5 separate regions of the Homo sapiens genome follow, and regions 2, 3, 4 and 5 are each linked to region 1. The links are contacts of gene promoters, found by promoter capture Hi-C in human tissues and cell types (Jung and others, 2019). All regions are on one chromosome and are shown on one strand. The core of a region is centred on a gene start or on the middle of the fragment in contact, and the rest is flanking DNA. Distances in the headings are between cores, read along the strand shown.

The links. Contacts are between HindIII fragments. The study calls those that stand out against the background at their distance.
Region 2: a contact is called between a fragment that was not itself captured here and the fragment with the promoter of KCTD12 in region 1, in 2 of the 25 tissues and cell types used here (H1 embryonic stem cells and dorsolateral prefrontal cortex).
Region 3: a contact is called between a fragment that was not itself captured here and the fragment with the promoter of KCTD12 in region 1, in 2 of the 25 tissues and cell types used here (bladder and stomach).
Region 4: a fragment that was not itself captured here is called in contact with the fragment with the promoter of KCTD12 in region 1 in 4 of the 25 tissues and cell types used here (H1 embryonic stem cells, dorsolateral prefrontal cortex, heart right ventricle and 1 more).
Region 5: a contact is called between a fragment that was not itself captured here and the fragment with the promoter of KCTD12 in region 1, in 3 of the 25 tissues and cell types used here (dorsolateral prefrontal cortex, heart left ventricle and mesenchymal stem cells).

What each region holds. Positions count from the first base shown.
Region 1 is chr13:76,885,155-76,887,830 of GRCh38, forward strand. It overlaps KCTD12 (potassium channel tetramerization domain containing 12), which reads right to left and starts at 1,251. Exons shown (of 1, transcript NM_138444.4): 1 at 1-1,251. The coding sequence starts at 994. The coding sequence ends at 17. RefSeq lists an enhancer at 266-765 and silencers at 379-648, 1,049-1,478. The HindIII fragment of the contact is 7,826 bases long and covers 1-2,153 here.
Region 2 is chr13:76,005,938-76,008,613 of GRCh38, forward strand. No RefSeq gene overlaps it. Among named protein-coding and RNA genes, the nearest start is that of LINC00561, 72 kb to the left of the region's middle. The HindIII fragment of the contact is 3,533 bases long and covers 1-2,676 here.
Region 3 is chr13:76,023,397-76,026,072 of GRCh38, forward strand. No RefSeq gene overlaps it. Among named protein-coding and RNA genes, the nearest start is that of LINC00561, 90 kb to the left of the region's middle. The HindIII fragment of the contact is 3,338 bases long and covers 1-2,676 here.
Region 4 is chr13:76,055,564-76,058,239 of GRCh38, forward strand. No RefSeq gene overlaps it. Among named protein-coding and RNA genes, the nearest start is that of LINC00561, 120 kb to the left of the region's middle. The HindIII fragment of the contact is 9,741 bases long and covers 1-2,676 here.
Region 5 is chr13:76,216,675-76,219,350 of GRCh38, forward strand. No RefSeq gene overlaps it. Among named protein-coding and RNA genes, the nearest start is that of LINC00561, 280 kb to the left of the region's middle. The HindIII fragment of the contact is 6,147 bases long and covers 1-2,676 here.

The DNA.
Region 1 (2,676 bases), core at 1-2,500:
AGGGGGTCTGGGGAGCTCACTCCCTGCAGAAGACGTACTCGGTGTAGCTGGTCCAGATCTTGTCCTCGCTCTGGTCGGTGCTGCTGGCAAAGGCGCAGGTGCCCGTGGAGCTGCACGCCACCATGTGGAAGCCCGACTCGGACAGCTTGTCGAAGGCCTGCTCCAGGAAGTTGAACTTGAGGTAATAGCGCGAGGTGTAGCGCTCCGGGGGACGGTCGGGGTCCCGGCTTTCGTTCAGGGTGTCCCCAAACACCTCCTTGGCCAGCGACGTCTTTCCGCAAACGGTGATGCGCGCCACTCGCCGGAACTTGGCGTCCGCCTGCGCGTCCCGCCCGATGGTGTAGGAGCCGCGGTAGCCGATGGTGATGTAGCCCGAGCGCCGGCTGCCGTCCAGCGACTGGGACGGCGTGAGCAGCGGGCCCGCCGCGCCCCCGGACGGACTGCGGCTAGCCAGCTCCAGCGTGGGCGACGGCGCCCCGGCAGAGGCGCCCTCCTGCTGTTCGGGCTCCGAGTAGCCAAGCGGCAGCAGCTCGTCACCCAGCGAGCCCTCCTTGTGCACCCCGCGCCGCGAGGGCGGCGGCCCCGGGCCGGGCTGCTGGGGCGCCCCGAGGCGGCGCACGAGCTCTGGCAGCTCGAAGTACTCGGCCTCGCGCTGCAGCCGGCTGCGCTCGGGGAAGTAGTCGGGCAGCACGAGCTGCAAGTCCCGCAGGTAATCCAGGATGTAGCGGAAGAGGAAGCCGTCCCGGTCCAGAAAGAAGCGGCCTTTGCTGTCCCGGGCCAGCTCCTGCGGCTGCTGCTGCGTGAACATGCGCCAGAGCAGCGAGTCGGGCACCGACACCACCGTGCAGCGCCGGGTCACGTACACCTGGCCCCCCACGTTCAGCTCCACGATGTCGGGGAAGAGCGGTGGCTCCGCGGAGGACGACGAGGAGCCACTGCCGCCCCCGCCGCCGCCCCCGTTGGGTAATCCACGTGTGCTGTCCGCCAGAGCCATGACAGAGAGGTGGCCGGGCCGGGACAGTGGCAGGAAGCCGCGCTGCACTCAGGAGCTGCAACCGCCTTCCCCGGAGCCCCGGAACCCGGACGCTCGCTCAGCCCTGCGCCCCGCCGCCGCCGCCGCCGCCACCGCCGCCACCGCCACCGCCGCCACCTCCTAGAGCCGCGCGGAGCCGAGCGGTGCGAGCGCGCCGCTGTGCGCCCCCTTGAGTTCCAGTGCGCTCCGCCCGCCTTGCCCGCGCGCTCCAGGCGAGTGCCGGGTCGCGGCCCGCGCGCTGCTTAAGTAGAGCCGCCTGCTCTGGTGCCGTGGCGCGCAGGAGGCGTGGGCGGCGGCGGAGCCTCGCTTACCGGGCGAGGGGAGGTGGGGAGCGGGGACTCGATTTGCATCTTAAACGCGGACGCCACGCGGGGCTGCTGGCTCCACCCCGGCTCGCGAGCGCTGGGGGCGCCCGGACTCCCACCCGCTCCCCACCCACCAGCCCCGCCCCGTGGTCCCGCCCAACTTTCTCCCTCTTCCGAAGAGGACCCGCCCGAGACTTGGCGGCTTCGGAAGACAGCTCCTTGGAGGGACAGTCACCGCGCCCCCTCCCCTCTCGCCCCAGCCCGCACCCAAGGACTCTGGAAGGAGGACGTGAACTTTCGGAAGCCTGTCGCCCCGGGAGTGGAAATGCGTGGCCGCCTCCGGCCCTCCCGCCTGCGGAACTGGGCGCTTCCAGCAGTGCAGCTGCGGCCTGCCATCGTTGGTTGTCGTGTCACTGAAAGTAGAGAGACGCGAAAAACCTGGAGAGACGAAAGAGCCGCCCCAGTCCGAGCGCAGCCAGATTTTGTTCAAGTTGCCTTGCAGCCAGCCTGGAAAATAAATAAATAAACCTAGAAACAAAAAGCAAACCTCAGTGTCCCGCAGTAGGATGCTTTACGATAGTTTATTTTCTGGCTGCAGAGACAAAATGAGATGAAGCTTCAAATCTGCTCTTAATTGCAATTCCCTCTTCCCGCAGGGCCTTCGAGGCACTTCACTTCGAAGTGAAGGGGTAAGACTCCGGAACGTTCGGTCTCCGGGTCCCATTCAGCCTTCGTTGAATCGCGCCCTTAGACTCACAACAGTTGCAGATCTAACGTAATTTTTAAAGCCACCTTTGGCGCCTGCATGTTTATCCTTCCAAAAGTCCAGGCGCCCCTTCTCTCCCGCATGCCTCGGTCACTCTTCGGCCCTGTCCAAGTTCCCGTCAGTCTCAGAAAGGGATATTTATATATCTGAAGGCCCTTGTCTGGATCCCATCTCTCAACTCCTGCTGCCTACACGTTTGCTTTTCCCCCTCGGACTGCAGCCCACAGAACCGCCCCCTCCCCCTGGAAGCTTTCCCTGGCTTCCCAGGTGGGTGGGGCCTCTGGATGGCTCCCTACACACTGTCTGCGCTGCTCCCAGCACGTTCTGAAATGTCATATTTATGAGTGATTATCTGATCACTGATTTGGGTATGAAAATAAGTAAGAGCTCCTGAATGCTGCAAAAAGAGAAGAGTGCAGAGGAGGGTGTCAAGAAATGATTGGGTCACTGAATGTTTCTTGTGTACCTGCTATTATTTGCAGGGCACCAGGGAGTGAGGAATGCAAAGGCGAATAATCTCCAAAGCGCTTTCAGTGTAGCCCAATAAGCAAAGGGTCAGGGGTCTGCGCAGT
Region 2 (2,676 bases), core at 111-2,610, 880 kb before region 1:
GAGACACTTGAAAACCCCCAACTTTACTATGTTTTGACAAGTGCTGCAGAATCTTCCTCTAGTTTGCTAAGACAGCCTTATAGAAAAATAACATAATTATGAGAGTGACATCCTGTCACCTTTGACAGATTGGGTTGGTTAGATGCAAGTCTTAGGCTCTGCCTGAACACAAGGAGAGGAGATTATACAAGGGCATGGCTCACTGGGGTGTGTTCACCCCAGTGGGAAATGCAGTTTTTGGTTGCTTAGGCTCTGCGATACACAAATTGGAAGAATTGTTAAGAGAGCCTATCTGTTGTGCCTCCACCCTTATGTTTCAGGACAGGCTAGTGATCCAGTGTGGCTGGAGCCTATGCCCTCTAGGGATGTTTCACTATGGATAAAGCTGGAGAGGTAGGTAGAAGCCCAATTATTAATAAAGTGTCTGGTGTATCGCAGTAAGGAGTAAGGGGAGCCTGTGAACTCTTAATGCAAGGAAACAATAAAATCTGAATTTTGGAAATATTTGGAAAGAAAGTGTATTGGGTTTTTAGTGCTATGCAGTAAGTTACTGTGTAATTGGCAGTGTAAAACAATGCATATTTAATAGCTCACAGTTCTATAGATCAGAAGTTTGTATAGGGTCCTCATTCTACCCATTGGAGCCTTAAGTAACAGACTGGTTACTACATGGCCTTTGAAGTTCATGTATTAGCATATCCTGATATCTGAAGGGGATTTTAAGAAGACAATAAAAACATTGTTGTATACGACTGAGCTCAGGATCCATAATAAGCAATCACACACAACTTTCTACAAGTGGTATGCAGTATATATCTGTATTAGTTCTAATTCTGTATCACTAAGTAGTTGGTGTTTACCTGTAATCTTGGTAGCTGAGAAGCAGTCTTTGACTTCCTAAATTGAGTTCCCCCGCTACCCCGCCCTGCCCTGCTCTTCCTTTCAGCTGTTAGTGCTGGAAAGTCAGATTCTTGGTTCCTGGTCTTCATTCCCCAGTTATGGCCTTTACTTCTGCATTTGCTCAAAACACCATCTTTAATCATCAAGTCTAATGGGTTCCTTTGCTACATCCAGAGTGCTTTGCAAAGTCATGGCTTCCACTTTATGTCTAAAGACCATTTTCCTTCTTTGTTGCACTCTATAACTCAATGGTGATGGTTTTTGCTTTTAAACTAAGGAACATTGGCTATACCTGCAAACACACTCTGTAAAGTGAAATGAACTTGACAATTGAGACAAGGAATAGAAAAATGATTTCGACAAAAATATATTGTTTTACTTATTTCTAGAAGTCCTTCTTTTCATTCTCAGTCTGCTTCTTACTTCACATAGCCTCTTTTTGTATGCTCATCTTTGTGATAACAAAGGAAACACCTTTATTTATTTATATTTCATACACGGCCCTTCTACAAATCTATTGTTCCTACCAACTGTTACTTGTAGTGGCTTGCACTGTGACCTTAGATTTATTGGTGAACATATTGGTTCTGGGGCTCTAACTCAAGCTAGCTTTGGTTTAAATTGTATATGCTTCTGCTGTTACAGATGGCTACCAACTTGTAACTGCATTTGTCTGCTTTGAGGATTTTTTTCTCAGTAGGTGAGAACCAGGCTGTGTTCCTCATCTCTCTGCTTGTCCAAGATTCTGAATTCCAACAGGGTCACCACTTTGCCTTAGTTCAGACCCTTGCTCACTTTATTTTATTTTATTTTATTTTGGTGGTGGTGGTGGGGTTATTCCTAGTGAAAGCTATGATTATTGTGCAGTGGGAGGGGCCCTTTAGTATCTCGATGGACATCACGCTGTATCACAATCAGGCCTTGGATCATGCAGACACAAAGCAATGATTACATTTCATTTGTGATACTATTAAGGATATTTTTCCTGGCTGCAATAACTCAAAATATTTTACTTATTTCCCACTTCATGCACATTGATTTTTTTGGGTAATGGTAGCAGAAAATATGTGATTACCAGAGGAACGTCGATCAAGGCATTGAGGTTAGTGAAGCTTCTAAAAGTAGAAGAAAGCTGAATGTTTATTTTATTTTACTTTTATAAGACATAGGCTAGTAGTGCAGAACAGGAACACTTCCTATTCATTGGTAACAACAAAGACCTTTTAGTCATGGCAAATTACATTCCTAGAAAAGTATTTTAATGGGAATAATTATTTTGACTCTGATTTTCTGTAATAATGCTATATGAAAAATAATACTTCTGATTTGATATTTAAAAATATGCTTCAATAATGTATTGATAGGCATCTAACAAAGGACAGAATTTGTTTTCTCCTCTATTGTGATTTTCTGAACATCTTGTATATTCTTAAAGTAATTGTGTACAAGAATTAGTCTCTGAGGGCATGAACTAAATTTTATTCATCTTTATATCTTTATACACTTTGTATTCCTTGATCCAGTGCCTGGCATACAATAGTTATGCAATAACTATTTGTAAAATAAAAAGCCAAAGAAATATCTGGTTAGAAAAACTTTCTGCAAAAGTAAAGCTTATGATTAAAAAGGAGGGAATTTATTAGCACTAAGACATTTTTCTTAAGCAACAAAATTATCTATCATTACCTTACTCCTTTTGTATCTTTAGTCACTGTAGCTTTGATTATGAATAGAAAACGAATCTCAAATTGAACTATGAGTGAATAGAAATGTTCT
Region 3 (2,676 bases), core at 103-2,602, 860 kb before region 1:
AAACCTACTCTTGCTCACTTCAGTTTAATCTGAAGAGAGTGGACCTATGGAAAAATGAGGTTAAAACAAAATTTTGTTTTAGATCTCTAAGGATAAGGAAGCATTTCTTTTTTAAAGGGTGGCCAGAAAAGTCAGCCATTGATGGGTGAAAATTTATTTCTTAAGATCTTAAGCCAAATTTCATATTTGCATTTGAAAAAGCCTTCTCCTTTCTGCACAGTGAGAAAAGTGGTGGGGAAGGGAAGCTACTTGAACTGCTAAGTAATATTTAGTCACTTGGTTCATTTACCAATCTGAAAGCTAAATTGGGGGTCGAAGAGAAAACCATTATAGCTCATTGCTAGGTAGCAGACTTTTTGAAACACTGTATAATTATAGCACTCAGGCCAAAAATATTCCTCAAATGTGTCCTGAAGTATGTTGCCTCAGGTTAAGTAATCTAGTTACAGACACAGTGATTACTATGGTTTTTATGAGCAAGCCTCATACCTTGCTTAGGAACGAGTAGTTCCTTAGGAATGTGTAGATTCCTTAGGAATGTGTAGATGCTTGGTTTGGCACTTCCATGGAAGAGTGGAGAAATGTACATAATGTGAAAGCTCCTGACAAGGTAGTATCTAGTAGTCCACATCTCTTAGAAATGATACAATGTTCATTTCTGCTTAATTGCATGAGAAAGTGAGTGTCAAGTGTTGGATGTTTTGTTTCACCCAAGTTCATATGTTGAAGCCCTGCACCTCAGTGTGATGGTATTTGGAGGTGAGGCCTTTGGGAGGTAACTGGGGACAGATGAGATCATAAGGGTGGGGGCCCCATTATAGGATTAGTGCCCTTATAAGACACTGAGAGATCAGAGCTTTCTCTCTTCCTGCCATGTGAGGATGCAGCTAGAAAGTGACCATCTGCAAGCCACGAAGAGAACCCTTACCAGGAATGGAATCTGCTTGCACCTTGATCTTGAATTTCCTAACCTCTAGAACTGTGAGATACAAATTCCTGTTGCTGAAGCCACTCAGTCTATGGTATTTATTATGGCAACCTGGTCTGACTACTGCAGTGAGTACAAAGTGAAAATATAATAAAAATGTTTAAAATCACCACACCTTTGTTAGTTTCTGGCTTGATTGGAGTGTTATATATAAAGAAAGAAAATGGTAAGCTTTTAAAGCTGCTTGAATGAAATCTTAAAAATTCAGAGAAAAATAATTGATAGATGTTGAATTGTACATGATTGGGGACAACTGTTAAGCTTTTAACTTTCATATACTATATCAGAGGTGGGTCTAAAACCTCAAAGCAATGTAGCATAAATTAATTTTCAAATTTAATTTTTTTCTTCAGAGTTTTGTATAAGATTTTTTATGGCATTAGATAACTTCCAATTACTTAAGACTGTTAAAAAACTCTTATGTTATTTCAACTGAAAGTGAAAGGGGAGAATGCCATTCTAGAAATGTTGTATTTACATAAAATGATAGCAATGTATTTTACATATGTATAAAGAATGGATGGAAAGATGTATGGAATCGGAAACTGAGAAATATCCTTTAAATCAACTTTCTTTAGGAGCTTTACATTGCATTCATAATTGAAAAATTCAAGATTTTCAAGAAAAAAACTAAAACATTTCTCAAGTCAATATTGATCCCCAAACTCAGTTTCATATGCTCGAAGACATTTCCCTCCATTTTTTAAAATGGGAAATCTTAAGCTTCCAAACACTGCATCGAATTTTAATTCAGCTCAGATAACAGTGCATAGAAAACTATGAGTTCCACGTGAGTATTTTTTTTATAGGCACAGAAACAACCAATTTGAAGGACGTTTTTTCTGAAAGTTGAGTGATTCCCCAAGGATCGATCACCTGATTTAATTGAGAAATATGAGCCAGACACTGACTTCTGGTGTGTGTGTGTGTGTGTGTGTGTGTGTGTTTGTGTAATTTCCAAATATGTGGGCACCTTATGTAGATACACATAAGATTCAACTAGGCATCTTATCTTAAAAATCACTCAAAAGTAAAATAACTTTATACAAAGTTGGAATATCAATCGAAAGCATATACGCCACAACAGAAGAACTATTCCACTCCTATGTAAAGCCAAATGACCCTCCCGTGCTCCGAATTTTATTCCCTGTTTGCTGACTTGACTCCTATAATTTTAATTTCTCTGTCTTGCATCATCAACTTCTTCCTCTCTAATGAACATTTCTATTAGCTTAAAAATGGCGTATTTCCTATCTTTGAAGAAAGTTCTTCCTGTTCTTCCTCTTCAGCTACTGATTAATTTCTCTGTTCTTTGTGGAAAAGTTCCCTGAAGGAGCTACGTAAACCTATCACCTTGACCCCCTTATTTTCTTGTCTCTCTTTATCATATTCCACTTAGACTTGTGTCTTCATCACTCTAACCACATTTGTTATTGCCATCCATGGTTAATTCCAAGTTCTTAATTGATTTCTCAGAAACTTTTTGCTTTCTCCTAATTAGTATGTAAATTCTTTTTTCCCAGCTGTATTGAGACCTAATTGATAAATAAATTATATATATTTAAAGTGTACTACTTGATGTTTTGATATTCATATACATAGTGAAATGACATCTAAATCAAGCAAACAACATTTCCATTACCTTACATAATTACCATGTTCTTTCTCTCCCTTTGTTTTTCTCTTTC
Region 4 (2,676 bases), core at 92-2,591, 830 kb before region 1:
AACTACAGATCAATAATAATAACAATTTTTGAAACTGTACAGATGTGCAAATTAAACAATGTGCTTCTGAATGAACTGTGAGCCAAACAAAAAACTGAGGAAAAATTTTACAATTTTCTTGAAACAAATGGTAGTGAAAACACAAGACCAAAACCTATAGGATACAGCAAAAGCAGTACTAAGAGGGAATTTTATAACTATAAGCACCTACATCAAAAAGAAGAAAAACTTCAAATAAACAACCTAACAATGCATCTCAAGTAACTAGGAAACCAAAACCAAAATTAGCAGAAGAAAGAAATGATAGTGAATAGAAATAAGTGAAATTGAAAGGAAGAAAACAATACAAAAGATGAATGAAAAAAAGTGGTTTTTTTAAAAAAGTTAAAAACATTGCCTAACCTTTAGTTAGGTTAAGAAAAAAAAAAGAGAGAAGACCCAAATAAATAAAATCAGAGGCGAAAAAGGAGACATTACAATTGATACTGCAGAAATTCAAAGGATCATTAGTGGCTACTATGAGCAGCTATATGCCAATAAATTGGAAAAATCTAGAAGAAATGGATAAATTCCTAGAACATACAACCTACCAAGATTGAACCATAAAGAAATCTGAAACCTGAACAGATCAATAACAAGTAATGAGACCAAAACCATAACAAAAATTCTCCTAGTAAAGAAAAGCCCAGGACCCAATAGCTTCACTGATGAATTCTACCAAACATTTAAATAACAAATAGCAAATCCTACTCAAACTATTTCAAAAAATAGAGGAGGAGGAGATACTTTGAAACACATTCTACAAGGCCAGTATTACCCTGATAACAAAACCAAACAAGGACACAGAAAACAAGAAAACTAAGGCCAATATCTCTGATGAATACTGATGCAAAAATCCTAAAGAAAATACTAGCCAACTAACTTCAACACAACATTCCAAAGGTCATTTATGATGATCAAATTATGTTTATCCCAGGGATGCAAGGATGGTTCAACATATGCAAATCAATCAATGTTATACATCATATCAACAGAAAGAAGAACAAAAACTGTATAATCATTTCAATTGATGCTGAAAATCATTTGATAAAATTCAACATCCCTTCATGATAAAAACCCTCAAAAACTGGAACATACCACAACACAATAAAAAGCTGTAAACAATAGACCCACAGCTATATCATACTGGATGTGAAAACCTGAAAGCCTTTTCTCTAAGATCTGGAACAAGACAAAGATGCTCACATTCACCACTGTTATTCAAAATAGTACCAGATGTCCTACCTAGAGCAATTAGACAAGAGAAAGAAATAAAGGGCATTCAAATTGAAAAGGAAGAAGTGAAATTATTCTTGTTTGCAGATTACATGATATTATATTTGAAAAAACCCCAAGACACTGCAAAAAACCTATCAGAACTGATAAATTCAGTAAAGTTGCAGGATGCAAAATGAACATACAAAAAATCAGTAGCATTTCTGTATGCCAGCAAGAAACAATCTGAGAAAGAAATCAAGAAAGTAACCCCACTGTCAATAGCTACACATAAAATGCAATAGCTAGGAGTTAACCAAAGGAGAGAAGATCTCTACATTGAAAACTATAAAATACTGATGCAAAAAATTGAAGAGGATCAAAAATATGGAAATATATGCCATGATTCTGGAATAGAAGAATCAATATTGTTAAAATGTTCATACTACCCACAGTTTCAATGCAATCCCTATCAAAATACCAATGATATTCTTCATAGAAATAGAAAATCCAATTCTAAAATTTGTGTGGAACAACAAAACACCCAGAATAGCCAAAGCCATCATAAGCAAAAGGAAAAAAACTGGAGGAATCACGTTTCCTGACTTCAGATTATACTACAGAGCTACAGTCCCCCAAATAGTATGGTACTGGCATACAAAGAGACACACTGACCAATAGAGATTAATATTCTCTATTCTCAACACAGTGGAGAACCCAGAAGTAAATCTATACATCTGCAAGTGAACTCATGTTTGACAAGGTACCAAGAACATACACTGGGGAAAGGACAGTCTCTTCAATAAATGGTACTGGGTAAACTGGATATCCATGTGCAGAAGAATGACACTAGACCCCCATCTGCAGCGTATACAAAAATCAATTAAAATGGACTTAAAGACTTAAATCTTAGCCCTCAAACTATAAAACTAGTAAAAGAAAGGGCTGGGAAAACTTTCCAGGACATTGATCTGGGCAAAGATTTCTTTAATAATATGCTACAAGTGGCTGGGGGCAGTGGCTTACGCCTGTAATCCCAGCACTTTGGGAGGCCGAGGCGGGTGGATCATGAGGTCAGGAGATCGAGACCATCCTGGCTAACATGGTGAAACCCCGTCTCTACTAAAAAACACAAAGAATTAGTCGGGCGTGGTGGTGGGTGCCTATAGTCCCAGCTACTTGGTTGGCTGAAGCAGGAGAATGGCGTGAACTGGGAGGCGGAGCTTGCAGTAAGCCAAAGATCGTGCCACTGCACTCCAGCCTGGGCGACAGAGGGAGACTCTGACAAAAAAAAAAAAGCCACAAACACAGGCAATCAAAGTAAAAATGGACAAATAGAATCACATCAAGTTAAAAACCTCTGCACAGCAAAAGAAACAACAAAATGAAGAGACAACCCACACAATGGAAGAAAATATTTGC
Region 5 (2,676 bases), core at 55-2,554, 670 kb before region 1:
TAAAGCATATTTTAATGTATTTTCACTTGATCCTTGATAAGTCTAAGCAGGAATAAGAATTATGTCATTTGGATCTCTAAGGATTTATCTTAAGAATTTGATAAACATCAAATCCATGATTGCCGTTATCTTAAAATAACTTACTCAATTAGTTTTAAGTGTGTGCAGAGGGGCAGGGTACAGAAATGGGATCACTCTGCATGAATGATGCATAGCTTTTGGCTTGCTAACAAGAGCTATAAAGTAGGAATGGAGGGTGTCAGCATGCACACACACCATCACACAGCTGCTGCTTGCAAATTGGAAAGAAAAATATTACCAGGCGAGCATTAGCAAAGCTAAACCAGAATTTCAACATTGCCAAAACCCCAAAGAATCATCAGAGAGGAAAGGAAGAAATGAACCAAGAATGAAATATTTGAATATTTGAATGCAGCATTGTGTGCAAAGGACTGAATTCTTTAAAAGATTTATTTAAAATACCTACAAATCAGAAACAAAATATTTTTATGAAATGCTCAGTTTAACCATGAAAGGTGTCTCTTTGCCTCAGACAAAATTCAAATTCTGTACATGTTCTATTATCACATAGTTTTTTTTCTGGCCAAAATTGTTCATAAAAGCAGGGATAGGTAGATTTCTACAGTAACCACATTTTATTATTTAATATATTCAGAATATTCCCCTAAGGCGAGGTCAGGAGAGAGGAATATTTTCTGTCATTTGTGCATTTATTCCAAACAGACATCCTGAGTTCCAGTCCCCATTCTTTGTGACCAGCTGTGTAGACTTGGATAAGATCATTAACCAATCATCAGTTTCCCCATGTGAAAGGGGATAATAGTAACACCCATCTCATTGGCTTGTTATGAGGATGAAGGTAAATAATTCCAGTGATTTGCTTTGCACTATGACTAGCACATAGTGACCACTCAAAACATGATGGCTATTGTTATTAGCCAGGGATCCTGCCCTCAAAGATAGAAGATCAAGTAGGAAAAGATAGTAAAATTCACATCCAATGCAAAGTAAAATAAGGTAAAAGCATAAACAATGAGGAAATTCAGAAAAGGAAGCAATCTCATTTACAATGGCAGATAGAAGAGGACGTAATGAAGAATGGTGCAAAGAGAATGGAGAAGACCACAAAAAACAGAGTGGAAAGAACATGTTCATCCTTGTCTGCCCATTGTAGTTGGACAGGGGTGGTGATTTGACTCAGCCATTGAGACCAAACCACTCCTAGAAGTTGGAACTCTAGTGTTCTCAGCATTCAAAATCCTGCAGCAGGACTAGAATGGAGGAGAGAAAGTAATTCACTTACGGTTTAATCTGAGAAAGCTTTTGGAAAGTTTGCTAGTTGGTATTATACTAGTATTCAATAAAATCATAGTATTTGTTTCTCAAGAAAGGGAGTAGGATTTCCTTCCCGGTTCTGTAAAATTATTCCCTTTTGGAGCACTGTTTCCAATGATCACTTTTGAAAATGACTTCAGGTATTTATGAACTATCCTAGTTAATGCTATATCTTTAATCTTTGAGAGAAGATTGATTTTTTTCTTAACTGAAATCCTTCTGAACCAAATATTGATCATATCAACCACTATGATATTTTTGGTTAATAACTAAGTGTTTCTCTAATAAAATATAATCTTCTTATTCATTTTTTTTTTTTTACAACTTGTACATTATCTCTCAAGTCATTATGTTCGTTTGGACCGTGCATATTTTAGTATGCTAATTAACTCACCTAATGCCATTACTTTATCATCTTATTTTTTATATATGCCTATGGTGAGAAATTGATAGACATGACATAATTATCAGAGAATGAATATATGTAGAATGATACATCTCACGATTGTTACATGGGACTTCTTTGTGATTCAGAAAATTTTTGCCCAAACCATGAAAGATCCCCTACTTGCTACAAAGAGATAATGACCAGATTTTATCACCACCAATTTGACCCAGCATCTGCATCTTCTATGTACCTTCTCATTGTTCCTGTTCTGTCCATCTTCAGCTGGCTCGTTATAGACTATAGGACAGCTATAGTCCATAAGTCCCCTGACAGCTCCCCACAACTCACCAACACATTTGTCTCTGTTCCAATCATCAGTTTCCAGTCTTGATGTGTTAATGTGGTAATGTATGTGACATACTGATTTTAGAATTAAAGATTTTAATATAAGAAAAGATGTAACACCACAATCACATTCAATTCCTTCAACAACCAACAAATCCATTACCATATTTTAAAGCAACAGAAGGTTAAAATTAGAACAAGTTGAGTAAATCCTAAAGCAAGCAAGAATACTTTTGTCTGGGCCAAATTGATGAATGTTTTGTTCACATCTTTTAATCTAGCTTAGTGAGTCTCAGATTTATAGAGTATGAGAATCACTGTATATTATGGGTGATTTAAGGGATTTCCTAGGGTGATTTGAAATAGATTTTATTTTGGTCTCATCTCTGATTTTAGAACTAATGTTCCCCCACTTATCCTTCCCCCCAACTCTGCCCCTACATGCAAGGTTTATCTCCACCTTGACCTCAAGTCTTTATAATGGTATGCCTTAGAAGTGGGCCACATTCCTGAATCCTTCCCCCAAAGCTCTCCTTCCATCTACCACACTGTGGAACTGGTAACTTCTCATGCTAGTAAAGTAACAA